Linked DNA regions of Homo sapiens: regions 1, 2, 3, 4 and 6 are each linked to region 5. The links are contacts of gene promoters, found by promoter capture Hi-C in human tissues and cell types (Jung and others, 2019). All regions are on one chromosome and are shown on one strand. Each heading gives the region's core, a stretch centred on a gene start or on the middle of the fragment in contact. The rest is flanking DNA. Distances are from core to core; before and after follow the strand shown. Region 1 overlaps MACROD2 (mono-ADP ribosylhydrolase 2). Region 2 overlaps MACROD2 (mono-ADP ribosylhydrolase 2). Region 3 overlaps MACROD2 (mono-ADP ribosylhydrolase 2). Region 4 overlaps MACROD2 (mono-ADP ribosylhydrolase 2). Region 5 holds the start of FLRT3 (fibronectin leucine rich transmembrane protein 3). Region 6 overlaps MACROD2 (mono-ADP ribosylhydrolase 2).

Evidence for each region. Contacts are between HindIII fragments. The study calls those that stand out against the background at their distance.
Region 1: a contact is called between a fragment that was not itself captured here and the fragment with the promoter of FLRT3 in region 5, in 1 of the 25 tissues and cell types used here (dorsolateral prefrontal cortex).
Region 2: a fragment that was not itself captured here is called in contact with the fragment with the promoter of FLRT3 in region 5 in 1 of the 25 tissues and cell types used here (dorsolateral prefrontal cortex).
Region 3: a contact is called between a fragment that was not itself captured here and the fragment with the promoter of FLRT3 in region 5, in 1 of the 25 tissues and cell types used here (dorsolateral prefrontal cortex).
Region 4: a fragment that was not itself captured here is called in contact with the fragment with the promoter of FLRT3 in region 5 in 1 of the 25 tissues and cell types used here (dorsolateral prefrontal cortex).
Region 6: a contact is called between a fragment that was not itself captured here and the fragment with the promoter of FLRT3 in region 5, in 1 of the 25 tissues and cell types used here (dorsolateral prefrontal cortex).

The regions. Positions count from the first base shown.
Region 1 is chr20:15,428,321-15,431,020 of GRCh38, reverse strand. The region is part of intron 6 of MACROD2 (mono-ADP ribosylhydrolase 2); the gene reads right to left. Among named protein-coding and RNA genes, the nearest start is that of MACROD2-AS1, 500 kb to the right of the region's middle. The HindIII fragment of the contact is 5,462 bases long and covers 1-2,700 here.
Region 2 is chr20:15,372,249-15,374,948 of GRCh38, reverse strand. The region is part of intron 6 of MACROD2 (mono-ADP ribosylhydrolase 2); the gene reads right to left. Among named protein-coding and RNA genes, the nearest start is that of MACROD2-AS1, 440 kb to the right of the region's middle. The HindIII fragment of the contact is 7,293 bases long and covers 1-2,700 here.
Region 3 is chr20:15,766,819-15,769,518 of GRCh38, reverse strand. The region is part of intron 8 of MACROD2 (mono-ADP ribosylhydrolase 2); the gene reads right to left. Among named protein-coding and RNA genes, the nearest start is that of KIF16B, 810 kb to the left of the region's middle. The HindIII fragment of the contact is 4,341 bases long and covers 1-2,700 here.
Region 4 is chr20:15,483,195-15,485,894 of GRCh38, reverse strand. All of the region lies in intron 7 of MACROD2 (mono-ADP ribosylhydrolase 2), which reads right to left. Among named protein-coding and RNA genes, the nearest start is that of MACROD2-AS1, 560 kb to the right of the region's middle. The HindIII fragment of the contact is 3,257 bases long and covers 1-2,700 here.
Region 5 is chr20:14,336,209-14,338,908 of GRCh38, reverse strand. It overlaps FLRT3 (fibronectin leucine rich transmembrane protein 3), which reads left to right and starts at 1,297. Exons shown (of 3, transcript NM_198391.3): 1 at 1,297-1,505. The region is part of intron 3 of MACROD2 (mono-ADP ribosylhydrolase 2); the gene reads right to left. The HindIII fragment of the contact is 3,050 bases long and covers 1-2,225 here.
Region 6 is chr20:15,746,310-15,749,009 of GRCh38, reverse strand. The region is part of intron 8 of MACROD2 (mono-ADP ribosylhydrolase 2); the gene reads right to left. Among named protein-coding and RNA genes, the nearest start is that of MACROD2-AS1, 820 kb to the right of the region's middle. The HindIII fragment of the contact is 4,219 bases long and covers 1-2,700 here.

The DNA of each region.
Region 1 (2,700 bases), core at 43-2,542, 1.1 Mb before region 5:
GTGTGTCTGTCGTATGTGTATGGTAAAATACTACACAAGTCTCTCTTTCCAGCTCCATGGTACCTGATGTCACATCAGTTGCTTAAAATCTGAAAACATCAATTAACATTCATGACCCATATTGTGGGACAGTTAAAACCACAGACTGGCTATTGATACACATTTTAGGTAAAATTCAACAAAAGCATTCTGTGAAAATCAAAAAACTATTTAGAATGTATAATAAAGAGTATTACATATATTATTTATTATTATATGTAAATTGTGTGCTACATGTTCTTTATGTCAGTACAATTTAAAAGAAGCTTATATAATATGTACCCCTTTTTTGACAGCCAGTCTTTAAACATTTACCAGCACAGTACTGCTTATGCCATATTTTGCTTAGCAGTGTTCAGAGAATTTGATTGAAAAAAATGAATTGACAAATATAAATGTACATTTTACTCTAAATTAGGCTTTCTAGCTATAGAAAGTGGTCTGGGTATGGCAACTTTCTCTGCCAAGGGATTTCTGTGTAAATTCAACCAAGCTGTTTTACTCTTTCTGGTCTGTATTTTTCAATTGTAAAAGGAAGATAATGCCCACCATACAGAAATGTGTTGTGGACTATTGGTGGGAATGTAAATTAGTACAACCTCTACAGAAAACAGTACGGAGATTTCTCAAAGAACTAAAGATAGAACTACCATTCCATCCAACAATCTCACTGCTCAGTATCTCCTCAAAGGAAAAGAAATTATTATTTTTTTAAAAACCTCTATTCCTGCATTTATCACAGTGCTATCTATAACAAGAAAAAAAATACAATACAAATTCACAATAGTAACAATATGGAGTCAACCTAAGTGTCCATCAGTGGAGAACTGGATAAAGAAAAGATGGTAGGTGGAATACTACTCAGCCACAAAAAAGAATGAAATCATGTGTTTTGCAGCAATATAGATGGAACTAGAGACCATTATTTTAAGTGAAATAACTCAGTCACAGAAAGACAAATACTGCATGTTCTCATTTTAGTGGTAGCTAAAAAATGAGTACACATGGACATAGAGAGTAGAATAATTCATTGAAGACTCAGAAAGGTGGAAGGAGGCAAGGGGTGAGAAACTACCTGAAGGGTACAGTATATGTACACTGTTAGAGTGACGGTTACACTAAAAGCCTAGTCTTCACCATTACACAGTATATTCATGTAACAACAGTGCACTTGTACCCCCTAAATCTATAAAATAAAAAGTGAAAAAAGAAATGTGCTGTTGGAATTAATGACAGAATTTTTTTTTAAGTTACTGGCACTATGCTAGAATCTAAAAACTGCAGCTGCTATGGACCATAATAACTAACATTACTATTGAGGTCAATAATAATAAAAGATCTAAGTCCTTTTTGTTTATATCTTTTGGCTAAATGTGTACTGCCTTTTATTTCTATTAACACTATTGCATAGCCTATGTTTGTTTATTCCCTTTGCATGATGCTCTATTAAAAACGTCAAAATTTATGTGATTTTGTTTCAGAGAGAGTACAAATTGACTTTGTTAAGCTCAACTGTATGTCTGTAAAATGATATATGCTTTTTTCTGCTCCTGTGGAAGCCTTTACTATTAATAGTGAATTCTACTGTTTATAATGAGAAAGTAGAACAGTTTCTGGAACATAGTAGCTGCTCTTTTTAAATTAAATTTATGAGTCAATGCTTTGATTCTGACGGTTCTTGAGGTGCCAATAACATCTGAAGAATGTTCTTAAATGACTTAATCATTCAGTGATACAGATCATGAAGCAACAGTGTAACACAGACTCTGAAAGTGATGTAGTCTCTTTACAGGCATTCACCAACACTATCAATAGGCGTTACTCTCCGTATGAAAATCAACTGCAAGCTTACTATATATTTGTTACGATTAGAAAGGACTCAGAGTTCAGGAACAGTCTACTTAAAAATACAAATCAGAGAGGATTCAGATTCATCCCCATATTTGTGCCATGCCAGTCATGTTCCACTGTACCTTTTAAGTAGGATAAAAGTGAGTTTACAGCTTGAGCCCCAGGAATTCCATGGGAGCAAACTGAACATGTGAGCATCATGTATCTCATGTCTGGAGAGAAAAAAAAAATGTTTGACAACCTCTGCATTGAGCCCTCAAGGTGTAGGGAAGGCAAGATTTTACCTCTACCTTCCTAGAGTTTTTCAGTTGTGGCTGATAATTAAATTGACACAAGACAGATCAACAAGAAAAAAAATACAATACAAATGTATTTAATTCAAGTTGTATGTGGCATTGGAGGCTTCATAAGAAAATGATGACTGAAAGATGCAGTTAAAGTTAAACACATATACTAAATTGGACAAAGAGTAGTAGATTATGAAGATGTGACAAGGTAAAGGGGCTTGGGCTAGGGTAGTTAATTGGGTGAAGTGATAAGAAAGACAAGAGTTAGTTTAACAAGGTGTGTTTGGACAGATTTCCAGTGACCTCAACTTCCCATCCTTGATGATAAGAATGACACTTTTCTTCTAGTACAGGGAGGATATATTTCAACTGGAAATTTTATCTCCTGCTTTTAAAAAGGACTGCAAGAGTGTTCTTCTTGCACCTGCCCTTTTTTTACGTGCCTTTGACTCAAAATAGTCAATGTGCCAGAGGGGCACATTTTTGGGTTGTATGTTCTGAACTCTTTCAAAGGGAAAGCCAG
Region 2 (2,700 bases), core at 119-2,618, 1.0 Mb before region 5:
CATCCTCATGATAAGCAATTGTCTGGTCTTTACTGCGCACTAGTTTAGGGCAAAGCCATGAATTTTATGTGACTAACACCCACAAGGCAAACAACATAGCTTTTAAGGATTTTCCCTTTATTACTACCAGCAAACATGATTAATGAACATCCTGGCCAGTTCTCTGACTTGTATCTCTGATAGTTATAAATGCAATGATGTACGTACATTTGTTTAAGTTAAGTGTAACGGGAGAGTGGGAAGGTTCAGGAAATGAAATTGAAAACATCTCTTTCTTGCTCAGGAATAGTGGCACTCTATTCTTTCAGAATAGAGTTTCCAAAGATCAGTTATATCAACTGTCTGTACAATCTTAAAACACAACTGTATAACAAAAAAATACATAGACTCAGGGAAAGCTGGCACCAAGGAAAGCTGTGTTCTCTTCTTCAAATGAATCTTATGTGGAAGGTAAACATGTAAAGATATAAATAGCATTATTGTGGTCGAAAGTGGGCTTGGTGTAGTTGAAAAATAGAAAAGAGAATTTGGCGACCATAAGACTATATATACACATACACACATATAAGTGATTATATATACATATCAGTGATATACGTAATCATATAAGTGATTATATATGTATGTAAGTGTAATTACATATGTATATATACATATATGTGTATATATGTGATTATATATAAGGGATTGTATTATAATCATATGTGATTATATATATGATAAAATCACTTATATGTGTGTATGTGCGTATATCTATATATAATGTGTGCATATATATATAGAAATTATACATATATTTCCCTCTGAAGCTTTTGCAAGATTTTATGCATATCAAGAGTCTTCCATGAGTTTCAAAAATAATGAGAATAGAGAATGAGATAAAGGCAACAATGACTGAGCATTTTCCAGAGTTGACAAAAGACATGAATTCTCATATTAGAGGGAAAACAAACAAACAATAAACAAATCAACAAAAGAATGAACATCAAAATAAGACAAATGAAAAAATTCAGACGTGGCAAAATGAAGTTACAACACATGCATGTAAAAGATGAAAATGTCAAAAGGTACAAGGAAAAGTACTGCAAATATTTACAAAAAATGTCAAAATACACATAAATATACAATGTTTGTGGATTGGAGGACTCAAGTTCAAAAAGTAACAATTATCATAAAATTAATCTATAAATTCAATGACATTTCAATAAAAATCCAGAAAGTTTCTTCTTGAAAAGTGCCCAAAAAAAGCTGGGTGCAGTGGCTCATGTCTGTAATCTCAGCACTTTGAGAGGCCAAGGTAGGAGGATCACTTGAAGCCAGGAGTCTGAGACCATCCTGGGCAACAAAGTGAGACCCCATTGCTACTAAAAATAAAAATACTAACTAAGTGCAGTGACATGCCTGTAGTCCAAGCTACTTGGGAAGCTGAGGCTGGCAGATTGCTGGAGCCCAGGAGTTCCAGGATGCAGTGAGCTATGATGGTGCCACTGCCTTTCAGCCTGGGTGAGAGAACAGCACCCTGTCTCTAAAAAGGAAAAGAAAAAACAAAAAAGGAAAATAATTCTATAATTCACCTAGAAGAGAAAATCTCAAGAATATTTAAATCAGTTTTGAAGATAATAAATAAGATATATGGGGTTTTGCCCTTCCAGACATCAAGGTTATAAAACTACAGTCACTGAAAATTTAAATCTGGAGTAGAGTTAAATCAATGCAACAAAAAGAGGTCACAGAAATAGCGTTGTACATTTATAGAAACATGGCCTATCACAGAATTCTGGCCAGGTGAGGTTGATAGCCTAAGTAGGTATAGAAACATTTTAACCTTTTTAAAAGAAGGTATAGGATTGACAGGATAATTTTATAAAATTGTTATAGAAAAGGATTTTTTTTTAGGGTTTTCTCCTGTGGCCCAGGCTGGAGTGCAGTGGTGTGATCACATGATCACAGCTCACTGCAGCCTCAATCTCTGGGTCTCAAGCAATCCTTCTGCCCCAACCTCCCAAGCAATTGGGACTATAGGCATGCATCACCACATATGGCTAATTTTTTAATTTTTTGTAGAGATGGGGTCATGCTTTGTTGCCCAGGCTGTTCTCTGACTCCTGGCCTCAAGTAATTCTCCCACCTTCACCTCCCAAAGGACTGGGATTACAGACATGCATTATCGCATCCAGCCTGGGAGGGATTTGTGAAGACATGAATGGCAGAAACCATAAAGAAGAAGATCTGCACATTTTTTCCACAATAAAATTTAAAACATAATTTTAAAATCTGTCTCCATGGACAAAGTTAAAAGAGCAGCTCCAGACTGGGAATAAATGTATTTTGGCAACACATAATTATTATACCAAATATGTAAGGAACTCCTACATGGCATCTAGAAAAAGATGTTAACCTACTAGGGAAAAAAATGAGCAATGAACACAAAGGCAATTCACAGAAAGAAACCCAATGGACATTAAGTGAGAAGATATCTTACTAGAAATAAGGGAAATGCACTTGAAAGCAGCAGTGAGATGCTCTTTTATACCCATTCAACTGTAAAAATTAAAGTCTGAATATACAGTACCACTGTTGGATGCCAAAAACCCTGAACCTTCATACAATGCTGAGGAGAATGTAAACAGGTACAGCTATTCTGGATGATAACTTGGATTTTACAAACACAATTTGGAGATGTGCATACTCTGTGAGCCT
Region 3 (2,700 bases), core at 188-2,687, 1.4 Mb before region 5:
GCAAAGCCAGTCACATAAAAGTCTAGCATGATTATATACATACATAATAGTTAATAATAAATAATTATATTAGGTGGGGCGTGGTGGCTCACACCTGTAATCCCAGCACTTTGGGAGGCTGAGGTGGGCAGATCACCTGATGTTCGGAGTTCGAGACCAGCCTGACCAACATGGAGAAACCCTGTCTGTACTAAAAATACAAAATTAGCCGGGCGTGGTGGCGCACGCCTGTAATTCCAGCTACTCGAGAGGCTGAGGCAGGAGAATCGCTTGAACCCGGGAGGCGGAAGTTGCAGTGAGCTGAGATTGCACCACTGCACTCCAGCCTGGGTGAGAGAGTGAGACTCCGTCTCAAAAAAAACAAAAAAACACAAAACAAAACAAAACACCATTGCATTACTGGTTTATGCATTTACTATATTAAACTTTTTATCATTATTTTAAAGTGTACTCCTGTACTAATTAAAAAGGTTAATTGTAAAACAGCCTCAGGAAGGTCCTTCAGGTATCCAGAAGAAGGTATCATTATCACAGGAGCTGACAGCTCCATGAGTATATCACCCCTGAAGACCTTCCAGTGAGACAAGATGTGGAGGTGGAAGATAGTGACATCGATGATCCTGACCCTGTGTAGGCCCAGGGTAACGTGTGTATTTTTGTTTTAGTTTTTAACGAAAAAGTCTGAAAAGTGAAAATAAATACATACATGAAAATTAATAATTTAAAAATGGAAAAAAGCTTACGGAATAAAGATATAAAGAAATAAAATATTTTTGTATAGCTGTACAATGTGTTTGTGTTTTAAATTGTATGATTACAAAATAGTCAAAAAGTTAAAATTAAGTTAAAAATCATAAAGTAAAATGTGTTACAGTAAATAATTTATTATTGAAGAAAGAAAAATATTTTTTGTAAATTTAGTGTAGCCTAAGTGTACAGTGTTTCTGAAGTCTACAGCAGTGTGCGGTAATGTTTGAGGACTTCACATTCACTCACCACTCACTCACTGACTCACCCAGAGCAACTTCCAGTCCTGCAAGCTCCATTCATGGTAAGTGCCCTATACAAGTGGACCATTTTTATCTTTTTATATCATATTTTTACAGTATCTTTTCTATGTTGAGCTATGTTTAGACACACAAATATCATTGCACTACAGTTGCCTACTGTATTCAGTACAGTAACATGTTGTATAGGTTTGTAGCCTAGGAGCAATAGGTTATACTGTATGGCCTAGGGGTGTAATAGGCTATAACATTTAGGTTGGTATAAGCACAGTCTATGATGTTTGTGCAATGATGAAACTGCATAACAAGACATTTCTCAGAACATTTCCCCATTGTTAAGCGATGCACGACTACACACACACACACACACACAGACACATACACACAAACACACACACAGCCTCATTTTCTTTTTGCAGTAACTTTCATGCTATATACATATATCTTTTATTTTCTCTATTGCCTATTTTTTTTTTGCAACTGATGCTAATATGCTAATTCTAAGATATGATACAGCTTTATAAATAATGGTTGGTCATAGACTTAAGAAAAAATGTTTCAGGTTTTCAATTTCAAAGGATGAAAAAATTTTACTTAACAAAGAAATAAGCCAACACAGGGGTTGTGAATGTCTTTGGCAATCGGTGGTTAAAGGGATTAGCAGAGATCCCCTGAGAGGAAGAAAGAACTTTATGTAGTGAAACAGAAAAAGAAAAATCATTTAGAGTAGAACTTGAAATAAAAATGAGTCCAGAGAGAAACAATTTCAGACTTGGAAAATTAACAATGAATACAAGGTACTTGAAAATTGTGAAATATTTGGCTTGTAAACATGAATGTGATCTAACACAATCTATAAGACTTAAGACTAAAGTGACTTCATACTCTAGAAAACAGGAAAAATCATGCACTTCAAGGCAGAAGAAATGAGGGGCTAAAGATAATCAATACAAGGTGGAGAATTCTTTGCCATTGGTTAAACAAGTCTTTCTTCATTTAAGAAAGGATGGCTTGTCAGCATGAGTTGCAAATCAACAAGTCATTTTTGTAAGAATCAGAAAAAGCAGTCCTTCTCTCTAGAAATGTAACTATTGTTTGCCAGGAAATTATTGCAATAAATATACAAAATTTTAGGAATATGGCATGAATAGCATCTCCTGCATCATGCGGTGCACAGACTATACAACCTTAGGCAGCTGTCCTGGGTTGAATACAGTGTCCCCAGCATTCTTAGAATGTGGTGTATCACAAGGGCTCCGCTATTCATCTCAAAAGATGATCTATACAAGTTTTTGAGGAAAACCGAAAGAGAAAACATAAAATCTAGTTACTCATTGTGTAGGGAAATTATGTACTTGTGTTATTTTATAAGCTTTATTTTTTTAAAAGAGAAAAAGCTGGCCTCTCATATTTGTGGTATCGATAGATTGCTGAAGTGTACATAAACTCTTGGCAGCACTGCCCTGAGAAGTGAGAGCTCCTTCCTTGAATCTGAGCTTGAACACGTAATTGGCTTTGGTCAGTGGGACGATAGCAAATCTTACACGATCAGAGACATGAAAAGTGTTGTGCAAGGGGGCTCGCCCTCTGGCTAGGTGGATCCCTTCTGCCACCATGAAAACAAGCCTGGGCCAGCCAGTTGAGGATAGAGACCCCGCATGGAGAGAACTCCAAGCTAAGAGTCCTGAGATAT
Region 4 (2,700 bases), core at 37-2,536, 1.1 Mb before region 5:
CTTTTACTATTCTACCTAAAACATCCCCTTGGCTGGTTTTGGATTTCTAAGTTTTACCCATACATAAGTTACTGCTCCTGAAAATGCCTAGAGAAATGTAATTGGAAGTGATGCATGTACCATTTCCCTCAAACAGACAGAACCTGGCTCATTCCTCTTAACCACAGCAAGGCACTTGGGGTATAGCAAGTGTTTGACGAATGACAGGAGAATGAAGAGACCAAATAAGCCACAGAATTTTAAAGGAGGAAAACTGCATTTTAAAATGCACATTTCCCACAGCAGGCATCATTGTTCGTCTTAATAATGAATGACAGTATTTCACAAACAATGAGCTCTGGACCAAGTTTGTGGTAGAATAAGGAAACCCCAGAAAAGGCATATTTCTCATCAAAAATCAATCTGTTCTCCTGCTTGAGCTGTAGTAAGCAGATACAAGATAGCCTGGAGTTGTAATGTGCCAGGAAAACCTGCTGGGGCAGGAAAAGAAGTTCAGGATGTGCTCATAGTAGAAATAACTATCCATTTAAACACAAATGTTAGAGATTTACTTTGATGGACCTCTTTGGGAAGGTGGAGCTTTTGTGTAGATTGAAGCAATTCCTCAGGGAAAAATCGAGTCGATGTTTGCTCAGTATTTCACTTATGAACATGTGACATTTTTCTTCTTACAAAGTAACAGGCCTTCATTTTTGTCCCTAGGCTCAAAGAAAATGAAGAGTCAGGAGGATGACAAAATGAGAGCCAGCACATGATCTTTTTCTTACTTTCCTAGACATCCTAGATAGTGAGAATAACAATATATAGGCGGTTCAACATGCAAGGAGTTTGGAAGATGTCACTCTGTCCTAACACATGTGCCAACACGTGAACAGCTAAACCAACTAAAAGAAAGCAACAACTTTCTTTAGATCCTTCGAAGAAGTGAGGTCACAGAGCAAACTGCTGTCCCCAAAACTGGAGAGACAGACAGGTGGGTACAGAGAATCACAACTTATCTGAGCAGAAATCCCTTAGCAGAAGCCTCCGCAGGAACGAGTACTGGAGTAGAAAAGCCTAAACTCTAACTGACGGATTACTAGAGGCTCCATGTGGACCAGTCTGAATGATGGAAACTCCAAGGGGATCCATTCATCCAGGGCTATCATGCTTTTGTGAGTTTTTACCTCCAGGAGCTGGACCAGGTTCTCACAATGAATATTAGAGAAAAATCCCCTCATGCTTCCAGAAGTGGGAAGGGAAAAAAGAAGAAACATCTTGAAACATGCCACAGCATTCTGTGTGTCATAATAAGGCCTGCCTTCAAGAGAAAATATTTCACCTGAGCCTAAACTATTGGGGTTCTATCAGATCCTAACCAACCTGGGGAAAGGGAAATACTCAACTCTAGCCCACTCTAGCCTTCCAGATAGAAGAAAGGAAATGCCTAATTCCAGTTTACTCTAGCCCTCTTGCCCCACCTAAAAGAGGTGGAGGACCTAAGAAACACTTGAGATGTTCACAGTTCAGAGGTACAGGGTTGCCAAGAGACTGAGATCTAATCACATAACTATATAATACTTCCCCTCCCCTGACATCTAACCACCACATGACTAAAGGCTTATTTATTGTCGTTCTTTTTTTTCTTCTACGTAGTACATTATGTTTGGCTGTCAAGAAAAACTTACAAGACTTACTAAAAGAAAAAAGCAAAAGTTTGAAGAGACAGATCAAGCATCAGAATCAGATATGGAAGGAATATTGAAATTATCAGACCAGGAACTTAACAGCATCACAATGGAGGTCCTAGATAAAGCAGCAAGACAAGAAAAATAAAATAAAATAAAATAAAATAAAATAAAATAAAATAAAAGGCATAATGATGGGAAAGAAAGAAGTAAAATTGTCTTTATCCATAGATGACATGATTGTCTATGTAGGAAATCCAGGTTTGACCCAAAAATCCTGGAGAAAATAAGCAATTATAGCAAGATTGCAAGATAGAAGGTTAATATACAAAAGTCAAACATTCTCCTATGTACCAACAATAAACTAGTAGATTTTGAAATTAAAAACAAAATACCGTCTATATTAGCTACCTGAAAATGAAATACTTAGGTGTAAATCTAACAAAATATGTAAAAGATCTATATGAGGACAACTCCAAAACTGATAAAAAAAAAATCAAAGGAGAACTAAATAAATGAAGAGATAGTCTATGTGCATGGATAGAAATACTCAATATTGTCAAGATGTCAGTTCTTCCCAACTTTTCAGTTGGAAAGAAGAATCTATATTTTCAATGCAATCCCAACCCAGATTCCAGCAAGTTATTTTGTGGATATAAACAAACTGATTCTAAAGTTTATGTGGAGAGATAAAAGCCCCAGAATAGCCAACACAATATTGGAAAACAGTCAGAGGACTGATATTACCTGACTTCAAGACTTACCATAAAGCTTCAGTAATCAAGACAGTGTGGTATTGGCAAAAGGATGGAGAAATAGATCAATGGAAAACAATACAGAGTCCATAAATAGACCCTCGTAAATATAGTCAACTAATCTTTAACAAAGAAGCAAAGACACTACAATGAAGCAAGTCTTTTCAACAAACTGGGCTGGAACAACTGGACAATCACATGCAAGAAATGGATCGTGACACAGATTTTACACACTTCACAAAAAATAATTCAAAGTTAATAATAGTCCTAAATTTAAA
Region 5 (2,700 bases), core at 48-2,547:
AACAAGTGAAATACACTTATTTGATGGAAAACTTACGGGCACAAAGCAATTGTTGACCAAATAGCAGAAACCAGTCTACAAAAATCATAATTAAAAATACAAGTATAATTCTGTTAATTAGGCATAGAAATTTATAATCTCCACGTCTTACAATTGTCCAGTGTTTATTCATGTACCTAAATTAAACTAAAATAATTTCAATCCAGGCAAACCACCCTGAAAGATTTTTTTCTTAAGATGTTTATATCTAAACCCATGCTCAGATCAGCAAAAACATTTAGAAAGGAAAATATTCTATTAAATTTTTTAAAAACATTTTATTGGGGGATCGTTAAATATAAATAATCCATTTTAAATAATATAAACACGTAGCAGAAGTACATAAAACATACTTTCATTTTCTAAAACATAGAGAACAGTAACTTCTTCGCCTCCAAAAGAACAGACCATTTAATACCATTTAAAAAAATCTTTTGGCATTCCTATTGCCCTTCCCATAACTAAATGAATCAGTGACACGTGTATATATATACATATATTGGAGATGGAGTTTCGTTCTTGTTGCCCAGGCTGGAGTGCAATGGTGCAATCTTGGCTCACTGCAACCTCTGCCTCCCGGGTTCAAGTGATTCTCCTGCCTCAGCCTCCCAAACAGCTGGGATTACGGGCGCCCAGCTAATTTTTTCTACATGTTGGTCAGGCTGGTCTCGAACTCCTGACCTCAGGTGATCCTCCCACCTCGGCCTCCCAAAGTGCCGGAATTAGAGGCGTGAGCCACCACACCCAGCCCTGATGTATATATTTGAATCTGCTGTTTATTCATATGTTGAATAAACATTCACAGTTGGGATTACTGGCATACATCTTCCACAATTATAACATTATTTTAGCTAGTGAATAATAAAACTAATTTGATTTTGGTTAACTTCTTTTCAATACAGATGGTTTAAAAATAAGACAAAGCCTGTCTTTTTCTATTGTGATCTTAAAAATATCTTTCTAACATGCTTTTTAAAAAAAATACATAAGTATGCTACCACTGCCTTGTAGTAAACTTTAGAAAATGTTGAGATTCCAAAGGGCTGCCTACAAACCAAATGGCATCCTAGCTTTGGCAGGCTGATGCTTCATTTTGGCTGCTCTCGCCCCCTCTAGCGTTTGCAAAGCTCATCTGTCTGATTATCCAGTTACCTCACTGAACAAGATCTTGGCTAAGTCCTGCCCATCTATGACATCACCCCCTTCTTCAGCCACTGCGAGGTGAAGCTTTAAACTTCAGACTTGGAGGTGGGCTGTGTGCAGTAAACTGGAATGCTCTCCCTCGCTCACTCCTCAGTGTAGGAGTGATCTGAAGCAGGACAAGCTCAGCCTGCAGCTGCCGTGGGCTTTGTGTGGACTGGACGCAGAGCTTGGGAGACGGGGGAGGGCTATTACTCCAATTCACTGTCAATGGAATTACAGCTATAGCGGCAGTGTATATAGGATTGCTTTTTCTCGTCTTCCTGGTAAGTGTTTTCCATGTTTTTTCTTATGATTGTCCCAGAAAGTTTGCTTGGTTTTACTCTCTAGAAAGAAACGACTTGATACTATGAGAAATCCAAATAGGAACGTTTGCTCTGTCACCACAACAAGCAATATATGTGCGTGCAAGCCAGCAATGAAAAATTTCACTATCATGGCTGAATGTAAGAAGTTTCTTAGAACCTTCTTTCATTTATAAAAGATAGTAAGTGGCTATTTTCTGTCTTGAGTAATTGCTATGTGAAAAGAGCCTTATGGAAAACAGCAAGTTGGAAAGTTCAATGTTAAATATTAAAGAATACAAGGAGATTCTTCACAGATAGGAAAGCAACTTGGTGTGTACTGTACGTGTGGGATGATCACCAATTGCTGTTTTTACAACTGTGAAAGAAAATCAATAATCCCTCAGCCCATGAGTACGCAGTACATGAAAAGCATACATCTTGCTCACAGCTAGCCGAGCTACTCCTGGAGACTTATGTGCCTCTGTAAAGGATTAACAGCTACACCTAGATTTTAAAGCTTGCACTGCTATCGTGCCTGAGCTGCTTCAAGCATTTCAGGCTTGCAAATCTCAACTAGTAAATTGAACTCAGAGGAGGGGGAGACACTCTTCCAAACCATATTCCCTCTTCAATAGAACACCAAAATCCATTGCTTAGGCAAGTGAAGTATGTGACTAGCATAGTAAATGGCTAAGTCTACTCAGAAAAACTAACAAAGCTCACCCTGGAAGCTATGCCTGATGTATGCAGTGAGTTTGGGGTAGCAGGAAAGAAAAATAAATGAGTAGAGCCCTTATCAAGTGGGTTTTGCAGAGGATCCATTCTTTGCAACTTATAATAGGAAAATCTTATATTGGAAGAAATGCATTTATACTACAAAGCTTGAAAAAGTAGTTAAATGTATCTTCTCAAAAAATTTTGTTCACTGAATTAGGTCTGAAACAAAATGGTTGCATATAGGTAAAGAGTGCAACAGGCCCATCCATGTCTTCTCAACATCTGGGGGGTTTGTTTTTATTATTTTATTTAGAATTTAAAAGAAAAAAAATTGATTTTTTTTTCAATTTTTAGTCCAAAATCTCTAATGGTTTTAATAATAAGGCTATTTTAAACATTCTTAATAAATCTGTCTATTAATAAATCTGTCTAAAATGCTCATCTATGTTATTTTATT
Region 6 (2,700 bases), core at 39-2,538, 1.4 Mb before region 5:
ATGCTTTGTATTTATTGTCACTAATTCTATATTCCTTATATTATAGATGAGTAAACCAAGGTTTGAATGTCTTCACTGACTTGTCCAAAGTTACATGGCTGGCAAATGGTGGAACGAAGATTAAAGCCTGCTCTTCTTACTATAGCCCTCCACCTCCCCACACAGTATATACGTGTTTGTCAAAATATCATTAGAGAAAATTTCTCCTGGGTCTTGATTTAGAATAATGGTGGGCAAATTTATTCAGATCAGACTTCTTAATAAAATATGAACAATGTTGGAATACACTTGAGTGGAAGCCTGTAACTAGACACAAGTGGAATATTAAGGTAACAAAGATACTTATGTCCTGAAGTCACTGGTCAATACTGCACACATGGGTTTCAATTCAGAGCTATAGGTGGTGAGAGGAACAGAAGTCAATGTCCATGGCCTACCCAAGGTGGGAGTCTTATAAGAAACACTTCCTTTTGAAGCTTCAGAACGCTACATTTTGAAAGAAGGCTGAACTAATTATAACCTATATTCCACCACAAGCCCCAAATCCGAGGGGATAATAGAGAAGTTTTCTGTGGTGATGAGTGGGCAGGACAGAAAAAAAAATAAAGAGAAAGAAAGAAAGAAAGGAAAGAAGGAAGGGAGGAAGGAAGGAAGGAAGGAAAGAGGAAAATTTCTTGAGCGATTGTGGACATTGATTGGCTCTTTCATGTATTTGAACTCAGAGCCTGGACTGGTGATGGAATTTAAGTCACCAAATTTGACTGAAGTAGTCCCAGACTGACAGTGCCCCATTCTTTGTAGGAGGTATATTTTAGACCTCAAGGAATCTTCCCAAGTTATTTTTAAGGGCAATGGCCAAGAAGCAGTCATATATAAGCAGATGCATTAAGAAAGGAAATAACATGGCCAGAACTAGCATGGCAGACAGCAGAAAGAGATCTGCACACACTTCAGACACTGGGATTTGTAGAACACATTTTAAAAGAGCTATGCTTACCCTGTTTATAAGAATAAATGAAAAACTTAAAAATATCTGCAGAGGACAAAACCCTATAAAACAGGATAGCAGAATTTAAAAAGAAAACTAGAAAAAAGAAACAAAATTGTATTATCTACTCAAAGCTTTTCTGCTAATGTCAAGAAGGCAAAGATGGCCCCTCTCACCACTCTTTTTCAACACTGTACTAGAAGTACTAGTTAATGTAATAAGACAAGAAAAGGAAATAAGGGTATACAAATTGGAAAGGAAGAAATAAAGCTGTCTTTGCTCATACATGCTATGATCATCTCCGTGGAAAATCTGAGAATTGACAAAAAAAAATTCTGGAAATAATAAGCAATTGTAGCAAAGATGCGGGATACAAATTTAATATACAAAAGTCCATTGATTTTCCATCAACAAGCAATAATACAAGAGCCCTAAACAAAATATTACTGACACATTAAAATAAACATAACAATACTATTTAAAAACATCAATTGTATCATGTTACTACTGGGTTCATCCAGGAATTCAAATTTAGTTTGGCATTAAACACAGTCATCTTCATTCATCACTAAGGACTCTCGATACTGCCTGAAAACCTATGTGTGATCCTTCAAGCCTGACCATAGGTGATTACCAAACGTTTACCTGAGAGGCCTCAGCAGGGAAAACCACCTTCCCCACACCTACTTTGGTGCACAGCCAATGCACTGCAGTCTTTGAAGAGTATTGCAGTCAGGGACTCAGGTGCCATCAGCTGGCCATGTTCTTACTCATGTCTGCATTCTTAGTCCTGGTACCTACATTCAGAGGCCTCCTATTTGGGGGTCTTCAGAAGACATTTTTCTCAGGTGCTGAGACCTCCTTATTATGGTAGAGGGAGGAACTTTGAGGATACTCTTTTTTCACTCTGACTCAGTACTCAATACCTTCCATTACTAACCTTCCCATTCTCCTGTTTATGGTCCATAAAACAGAAGGAGCTTTTTGTTTAGAACTTTCTTAGCAATAAGGAGATTCATCATGTCTATGCTGATCTATCTGACCATGGATGGTGCCATTCCAAATGAACAATGGAACACTAGGGAAGTCAGTGCTTTCCCCAGTTGAGCATCTTGCTTATAGTATTGCACTATTGACGAAAATCTTGACTGTTACTTTCATTTTGGCTTATTTTCTTCATGGCCACTCGAACCCCTGGCAGCTCAGCTCTCAGTCTGGCTCAGCTCTTCACAAGTTCATTAGCACATTAGGAGAAAAAAACACAACCTCAATAGATCCAGAAAATGTATTTAATACAATTCAGCAAACGATGTCAGAAACCCTCAGCAGACTATGAAGAGAAGGAACCTAGCCTGAAATAAATGTTTTCTACTAAGCTTACAGAGCAAATATCATCCCTAATTTTGAAAATTATAAAATGATGAAAGTTTCACCGTTTCTTTTTTTTTTTTTTTTTTTTACTGGAAACCAAACAACCATGCCAAACTCAGTCTTTACTGTTTCACTGGAAATAAGTGCAATAAGGCAAGTAAAACTAAATGGTAATAGAATTGGAACTGGAGAATCAAATTGTCATTTTTCAAAGATAGTATGATTATATTCATATAACTTCCAAAATAATGTACAGAAAAACTTATCAAATTGATAAGAAAGTTTACCAAGGCTATGCATACAAAACTTGTACAAAATCAATACATAAAAATAACAGATAT